3 separate regions of the Homo sapiens genome follow, and regions 1 and 3 are each linked to region 2. Evidence: promoter capture Hi-C in human tissues and cell types (Jung and others, 2019). All regions are on one chromosome and are shown on one strand. Each heading gives the region's core, a stretch centred on a gene start or on the middle of the fragment in contact. The rest is flanking DNA. Distances are from core to core; before and after follow the strand shown.

The links. The method cuts DNA at HindIII sites, captures the fragments that hold promoters and counts their contacts. A contact is called where the count stands out against the background at its distance.
Region 1: a fragment that was not itself captured here is called in contact with the fragment with the promoter of IBTK in region 2 in 2 of the 25 tissues and cell types used here (H1 embryonic stem cells and mesenchymal stem cells).
Region 3: a contact is called between a fragment that was not itself captured here and the fragment with the promoter of IBTK in region 2, in 2 of the 25 tissues and cell types used here (lymphoblastoid cells and mesendoderm cells).

What each region holds. Positions count from the first base shown.
Region 1 is chr6:82,810,162-82,812,861 of GRCh38, reverse strand. No RefSeq gene overlaps it. Among named protein-coding and RNA genes, the nearest start is that of UBE3D, 250 kb to the left of the region's middle. The HindIII fragment of the contact is 3,331 bases long and covers 1-2,700 here.
Region 2 is chr6:82,246,294-82,248,993 of GRCh38, reverse strand. It overlaps IBTK (inhibitor of Bruton tyrosine kinase), which reads left to right and starts at 1,250. Exons shown (of 29, transcript NM_015525.4): 1 at 1,250-1,432. RefSeq lists a silencer at 1,448-1,617. The HindIII fragment of the contact is 4,806 bases long and covers 1-2,700 here.
Region 3 is chr6:82,894,076-82,896,844 of GRCh38, reverse strand. The region is part of intron 9 of UBE3D (ubiquitin protein ligase E3D); the gene reads left to right. Among named protein-coding and RNA genes, the nearest start is that of UBE3D, 170 kb to the left of the region's middle. The HindIII fragment of the contact is 3,568 bases long and covers 1-2,769 here.

The DNA.
Region 1 (2,700 bases), core at 182-2,681, 560 kb before region 2:
TTAAGCAATTCTCCTGCCTCAGCCTCCTGAGTAGCTGGGACTACAGGTACGTGCCACCATGCCCAGCTAGTTTATTGTATTTTTAGTAGAGACGGGGTTTCACCATGCTGGCCGGGCTGGTCTCAAACTCCTGACCTTGTAATCCACCTGCCTTGGCCTCCCAAAGTGCTGGGATTACAGGCATAAGCCACCACGCCCGGGCAATAATGTGGCTTTTCTATAATGACTGATTGAAATTTCATGTTTCTTTGGACTTCAGGAAGCTTGGGGTCAAATTTACAACCCAGTTATAATTGTTCATGCTGTACCTTTTTGTTTGATTGGAGTTTTAGAATGCATTTGTCATATTGTGTGTGTTTTTGCAAAAGTGTGCCTCCAATTCTCTTTTAAGAGTGATAAGATATAAAGCAGTAAACATTTTCAAAACACATGTCCTGTTCCAGGCACTGTGTTAGACACTGCAGATGTAAATAAAAACTTGATTAACAAATCATAGAAAAGAATATTGAAGCTTAATAAAAATTGGTAAAATTTCTCCATTCCCTAAAGTTATGTCAGTTCAAAGAGATAATATGGCAGATAGATGCAACCATAAATTTTCATTGGATGTTGAAGTAGAAAGGACTAAAGAGGGTATTTAATACAGTGTTTCCCAGATATGTTACATAAGGCACTATTGCAGAAGATAGTAGTCATTTTGGGTGACAGAGCAAGACTCTGTCTCAAAAAAAAAAAAAAAGAGAGAAAAGAAAAAAGAAAAACATGAATATAAACCCTTTCTGTGGTCAAATAATGGCAGTGCAGGCAGGGCGAAGGCTCATGCCTGTAATCCTAGCACTCTGGGAGGCTGAGGTGGGCAGATCACTTGAGGTCAGGAGTTTGAGACCAGCCTGGCCAACATGGTGCAACCCCATCTCTACTAAAAATACAAAAATTAGTCAGGTGTGGTGGTGCGTGCCTGTAGTCCCAGCTACTCAGGAAGCTGAGACAGGAGAATCTCTTGAACCCAGGAGGCGGAGGTTGCAATGAGCAGAGATTGCACCACTGCACTTCAGTCTGGGTGACAGAGCGAGACTCCATCTCAAATAATAATAATAATAATAATGGTAGTACAAAATTAATGGTAGGCAACATAGCTGGTGCCTTGGGAAAAATTAAGGAAGTGGTTTCAAACTGCATTAATTGTCATTGCCACACACTTGCAGTTTAAAAAACAAAAGGCCAGCTTTACTTGATAGGATCTTCAATAGAATAGTATAAATTATTGTTGCTAAATCTTGGCTATTGAGCATATATGTTTTTAATCCTGTTTGACTAAGTGGAAAGTATGCATAGAAAACACTTCTACTGCATGTGAGTTATGATGGTTATCTTGAGGAAAAGGATTTGTGGAGTTGAACTAACCATGTTTTTCTTGGAACACCATTTTCAGCTGAAAGAATGACCAATGAACAAACTGTTGGTATTAAGAGATGACTACTTGGCTAATTTTTTTTTTTTTTAATGAACAAATTGCTTCTGTCACTTTAAGGAACACTGATAGCATTTGTTGCCAGTGATAAAGTTTGAGCTTGCAAGTGACAATTTGAGTTTTGGAAAATTTGTATTTGCCACCATGAACTTCATAACTTTCCAATACATAAAGACTTTTCTGATGAGAATGGTGGGGATATTAATGAATGTGTTTTTGATATTACATAATGAAATGCACCAACATTTGGGAGATCTCCGTAACTCAGGGAATCAAGATAGTCCAAATGTTACAAAATTATGCCTGGGTAAAAGATCCATTCAAAGAGTAAGAAAGAACAGTGGATTTTAATGTAACAGAAAATAAAAGTTCATTGATATGGTTTCTTATTCCGTATTACAGTTAACCTTTCAGAAAGGACCACTTGTTGAGTTTTGCTGTAGTGTAAAAGAGGGATAGCCACAATTATCTGGAAGAATATTAAAATACTCTTCCTTTTCTAGATCATAGATATTGAGATGCCAGATTTTCTTTATATGCTTTAACTAATACCACATATCACAACAATGTACATGCTGAAACGGATATGACATCCTAGCTGTCTTCTATTAAGGCAGGCTCAAAAAAGATCTTCAAAAATATTTTTAAAATGCAACTCTTTTTATTAATTTTATTTTTTAAAACAAACTTAATTTTTCTAAAGTATTTATGATAAAATGTAAAGCTTTGTTATTTTAAAGTGAACTAATATTTTTAAGTTCTCTCAGTTTTAGTTTTTAAAAGAGTATCAATAGAAATAACCCATATAAACAAAAGCAAATTGGATTCTCAGAAATTTTAAGGATGAAAAGGAACCATAGGACAAAAAAATATGGGGACTGCTGTCCTAGAAGAAACCTCCTGGGGTCACATGCATCTTTATTTGGTCATATGAAAATTAAAATCAGCACCCATAGTTCCATCTCAACCAATGTTTTAAAAAAGCCATAAAAAACCTCAGTAGTGTTACAACTGCTAAAGCTAGGTACAAACATTTATGGAGAAAGGAAATCCTGAAATATTATTCTTGTATTACTTTACCAAAGATACCATGTGTTTATGTATCAAATAAAAATTCTTGGCTGGGCATGGTGGCTCACGCCTGTAATCCCAGGATTTTGGAAGGCCAAGGCAGGTGGATCACCTGAGGTCAGGAGTTTGAGACCAGCCTGGCCAACATGGCGAAACCC
Region 2 (2,700 bases), core at 1-2,500:
GTCTCGATCTCCTGACCTCGTGATCCGCCCGCCTCGGCCTCCCACATTGCTGGGATTACAGGCGTGAGCCACCGCGCCCGGCCAACTTAAGCTTATTTTCAAAACCACTCAATTTTGACATTACAAACTGGTTTTTGTTTTGTAGAAGGACATTAAGAATAAAGAGCAAAGAAACAATTATGTGCTGGGAAGGGCAGTAGGAGGGCTGGGTCCTAGTCTCCCTTTCTCTTTCGCTAAGCAGCTGTGTGGCTTTGGGCTAGTAACCTACCCTCCCACAAAAAAGGCTTCAAAAGAGAGCAAGCAGAGCTCAGTGGGCATTAAGACATGCGCAACTCCTTTCTTTTAGAGATTAGATGAGGTCGACTCAGTGGCTTGTAAAACTCAACGTGGCAGAGCTGTACAGCCAACTCATGATTCTTAGTGTCGTTTGTTTTGAGTCACACTACACCTCCTTGAACAATCATTTACTGAGTGCTTACCGTATTAGGCATTCAGCAGCAGTGTGTTTCCCATTCAGTAACCTAGTATTGATTATTGGCTACTGTCCCTCCTAGCATTTTTCACTTGACCACTTTCTAAATGGCCTTTAGATTCAGAGTTCAAGTGGAAAAAGCCTAGTGTAAGCCTGGTGTCAGGCAGTGAGTGGCGTGACCCGGGTCGGCAGCTAGTCCTACGGTGGTGATCTAAGAGGGCAGTGACGCCTTCTGACCAAGGGAGTGACTGCCAGATAATCCGGGTGTATGGAGATCCAGAGAGGGGTGAGGCTGGGTTTACGGAGACTACACCTTTGGCTTTGCAGTAACCCCACTGCTAAGGCCATGGGAGGAAACTCTTCTGTGCAGGACGCCTATGCACTTGGCTTCTGCTGCGTAGCGACCGGGTGTCCAAGGCATCCTGCCAGGTCTCCTTCTCCACTCGGGTTTAGCCTCCCCCGCGAGTCTCCAGCTACCTAGAGAGACGTTTCTAACTACGAGATGGCTGGCCTGAAAGGGACACTCCCATCACCGTTGTTGGCCTAGAGTTCCCCGCTGCGGCCTTTTTCTTTTCCCCGCCCCTGGCCTGAGTCAGCGGCCCCAAGGCCGGCGAGGTCAAGTTCCTTTGGGGCGCCAGGGAAAAGGCCATGGCAGAGGTGCTGCCACGCGAAACCTTCTGGGCAGGCACCAGCCAATCATCAAGAGACATACAGGAGCCCCAGCCAACCAGCGCCCGCCTTATTACTGGGAACCGCCCGCTCGGGCCCTTCCTCTACATCCCCGTTCCCGATTCCTGTAGTAGCGGCTGTATTGCAGCCGCCTGCCGAACTGACCCGGGTCTGGGGACTGGCCCCTCTGGCGCCGTTCGGTTTCTCTTATTGCCTTCACTGAGGATGAGTCCCTTTGTGGCTCTATGTGGACCCTGCGGAATCCACCGGCGCAGTTTCATCTAGCGACTGGTGAGGGAGGGCTTGGCGCTGCCCGACCGTGCGGTGCGGCTTCCCTTCAGCCCGGGGGCAGGGGGAGAGTATTCGCCTTCTGGAGGGTGCGGGTGGCTGCGGACGGCGGCGCGGGGGGACCGTGGGGAGGGGACTCTGTGGCCCCGAGGCTGCCGGGCTTCGCGCGAGGCGGCGCGGAGAGGGCCGAGTGGCCAGGGTCCCTACCGCCCCCCTCAGCTAATGAATGGCCTGTCCCGGCGATGCGCTACGCTCCCGTCCTGCTGGACACGCCCTCCAGCGACATTGCATTCCTAGTTGTGATAGTTATGTAGTGTCACTTTCCTTCGAGTCTTGGATTTGAAGCCATTCCTGTGGGCGCTCATGTTCCTTATCCCCTTCCTGGAGTCACAAGTTTGAGTCCACCCTGGGGATACTGACTCTGGGGAAGCAGGTCGTGAAATCTGATAAGTGGACATTGATTGCTATGTAAAAAGGAACTGATTCTTTTTGGAGGGTGGAGGGTTGAGAGAGACAGAGAAGACAGGCCCTTTGTTTTTGTAACAGGCAGAGCTGTCTGGCTCAAAGAGTTTTAGTTCAGCTGCGAATTAGGTAACATAGGCCGTCCTTGACTCCTGTTTTCCAACGTAGTTCATAAAACTTGACTGTGTTAGCCAGAGATTCATGTAGCACCTTTTAACTTATGCCTCGAAGTAGGCCATTTGAAATTTATCAGAAATACTGAAAGGATATGACTTTTATGAGTAGTAGTGTTTCAGTGCCCATAAAGTGGTGTAAATTCACAGGCTTGCCAGCCCCCTCTTGATCATTTCTCTTTTTGTATTTTGAATTCCTTAACTTTTATTTGTTTTAGAAATTGAGGCAAGGTAGATGAGGACAAAACTGGTTTCTAAAAATAATTACATTTGCAAATATTTGCAGAAGCTTTAGTCAAACCAGAGTTTACTTCAAGAAATTTTTTAGGCCGGGCGCGGTGGCTCACGCCTGTAATCCCAGCTACTGGGGAGGCTGAGAATTGCTTGAACCCGGGAGGTGGAGGTTGCAGTGAGCCGAGATCGCGCCGCTGCACTCCATCCTGGGCGACTGAGTGTGGCACCATCTCAAAAAAAAAAAAAAAAAAAAAGATGCCTGTAATCCCAGCAGTCTGGGAGGCCAAGGTGGGCGGATCACTTGAGGTCAGGAGTTCGAGGCCAACTTGGTGAAACCCCGTCTCTACCAAAAATACAAAAAAATCAGCCAGGCATGGTGATGTGTGCCTGTAATCCCAGCTA
Region 3 (2,769 bases), core at 112-2,611, 650 kb before region 2:
GCTTGAACCCGGGAGGCAGAGGTTGCCGTGAGCCAAGATCAGGCCACTCTACTCCAGCCTGGGCAACAGAGCAAGACTCTCTCTCAAAAAAAAAAAGAAAAGACAAAACAGAGGATAAAAAGTTCTAAATCAATGTTGAGAAATCAGTTATTATAAATTTGTTATCTAGGGTAAAATAACATTAAAAAATGTTTAACGTGTCACACAAATGTATTAATGCATCCCAAACTTACATTTGGTCAATGATACATCAACCTGGCCATGTTTATTGTGGTTTAAGAAGATTGTTTTTAGAGATTACTCAAAGCAGAGACATCATTTTTAGACATCTTAACATCCTCTCCCTCTCTCCATTTCCAAGTGTCACTATTCAGGTGTACAGAACTAAATCAGATCTTATAACCGAGAGGAAAGGTTGTCTTTTGTTTTTTAAAATAATTATTTATACGTTGTAACTATATTCCAGAAATATAACAACCAGCAAAACCTTAAGCTGCAGCTATAGTCATATGCTCTGAGAAGCTTTAAAACTTTTACTTTGGGGAATAAAATGAAAAACATGAAATACAGAGATCTTTCTCAGTGTAGTGGAACAAAATAAAATTATCCTCTCTTAAAATAAATGGCAGTTAGGGGAAGTAATTTTTCTTGTCATGGATAAATGGTAGGGAACACAAAATCAGCGTTTGAAATATGTTAACTCACAGTCTTTTAAATATAAGGAATAAAATGCATTGTACAGTACCTGTTCCCAAGGATGATTGCAGTTTCATGTTGTCTTTAAAAATACATAATGTGCTCGGCAAATGAAACTATAAAAACCAGATGAAAAGAAGACATTAAGCCAAATTTTAAACTTTTTCTTTTTCATTGGGAAGGTCCATTTTGCATTATTTAATTTAATCAGCTTAGCCTCTTTTGTAGTTGTTCCTCATCTTGAGTTCATATTCGCAGGCATGCAAAAGAAATCTTTTGATAGTTGAGGCAATACCAAAGATTGGAAGTCTCTAAGCCTCTGTAGTTTTCTGTCATTCATCTGTAAAGTTATAGTGGGAAAAGCATGGATTAGAAATCAATTTCTTTCTAAGCCCACCATTGTCACCTAAGAGCTTTGCTATCTGAGCAAGTTTCATAAGTTTTCTGAGCTTCTGTTTCTTCATATGTAAAACAAAGATTCAAATGCCTGCTTTACTAAACCATAGGACTGTGCTGTGGATGAAAAAAATCAAAGTAGGCTTAATAAAGTGTTTTACAAATTTCATGTACATCCTGTTAGAATTCCCATTTTGTGGGTGAGGAAAGGCTGAATGGGGCTAGCTGATAATTCTTTGTTTTAGGGGCTCTCTACATTGTAGGAGAACGTCCCTGGCCTCTGTCCACTGGATGCCAGTAGCACCCCCTCCCAGTTACGTTGACAACCGAAAATGTCTCCAGATACTGCCAAACGCCCGTCAGTACACAAAATCACCTCAAGTTGAAAATCACTATTCTGTATAGCTAAAATTCTTAACCATTTTCTTTTTTTCTTCTTTTTGAGACAGACTCTCCGTCTGTCAGCCAGACTGGAGTGCAGTAGCGTGATCTCGGCTCACTGCAACCTCTACCATATGGGTTCAAGTGATTCTCATGCCTCAGCCTCCCAAGTAGCAGGGATTACAGGTACCTGCCACCATGCCTGGCTAATTTTTGTATTCTTAGTAGAGACAGGGTTTTACCATATTGGCAGGCTGTTCTCAAACTCCTAACCTCAAGCCATCTGCCTGCCTTGGCCTCGCAAAGTGCTGGGATTACAGGCCACTGTGAGCCACTGTGCCGGCCTCTTAACCATTTTCGTAATGTCATTTATCAATGTTATCCTTATGCTAAGTATTTCCTGGTTGGAATATGCCATGACATAGCAATTTTCAGAATTACAAAAGAGATAAATGGTTTTCTTCCATCGTCTTCATGTTTGAATATAAGCAGCGTCATTGTCTTCTTTGTACAGTTGTGAGCTTCCTGTCCCTGTAAACTGTCTATGTAGAAGCAGAATGTCGCCTGCCAGGGATGCTGCCCACAGTGAGCCCTAAGTCAGACTCAATGACTTCTGGTCTTCCTTCCTCTGTCTATTATAACAGGCTCTACTGGCCTCTCTTCTCATCTGGTATATTCACAGGCTTCTAATATCTCTTGTCAGCTGAGAGACAGGGGAAACACATGGATTTTCCTAATCATTATTATTAAGTTTTGAAGGGAAGGTGAGGGTTAAAGACAGAGGGAGTTGGCGGCTCTACAGAAATGCAGGTTTTATGTGCAGCACAAGACCTGCAGAGGTGGGGGACCAGTTAATGCCAGCCAGAGCCCACCGCTGCTTACAGGCTGGGGTACTTATAGGTATGGGTGGGAGGGGTCTGGGCAGTATGGCTTACCGCCCGGCAGGATATTGATAAGATGTTCCTATGATCAGGCGGTTTGGCCCTTTTTCCAGTGGGATGTCATAGGATGTTCCTTGGGCCTTTGTCCAGCAAGATATGATAGCAATGTTCCTTCAGTTGGGCCTTTGCCTGGCAGGGTATGATAAGAAAGTCAGGTGGTTGGGCAGGATGTTTCTCATGGTCCGAACCCCCATGGAACGTTTCACTTTGACCTGGGACTATGAAATGGTTGGGGGGGTGGGGGCGAGGCTTACAAAATGGTGCAGCTTGAACTAACAATGATCTCATTTGAGCTTCACAGTAAGCTCTTGAGGTTTGCATCAATTGTCCATGTTTACATTTTGTTTAGGAATCA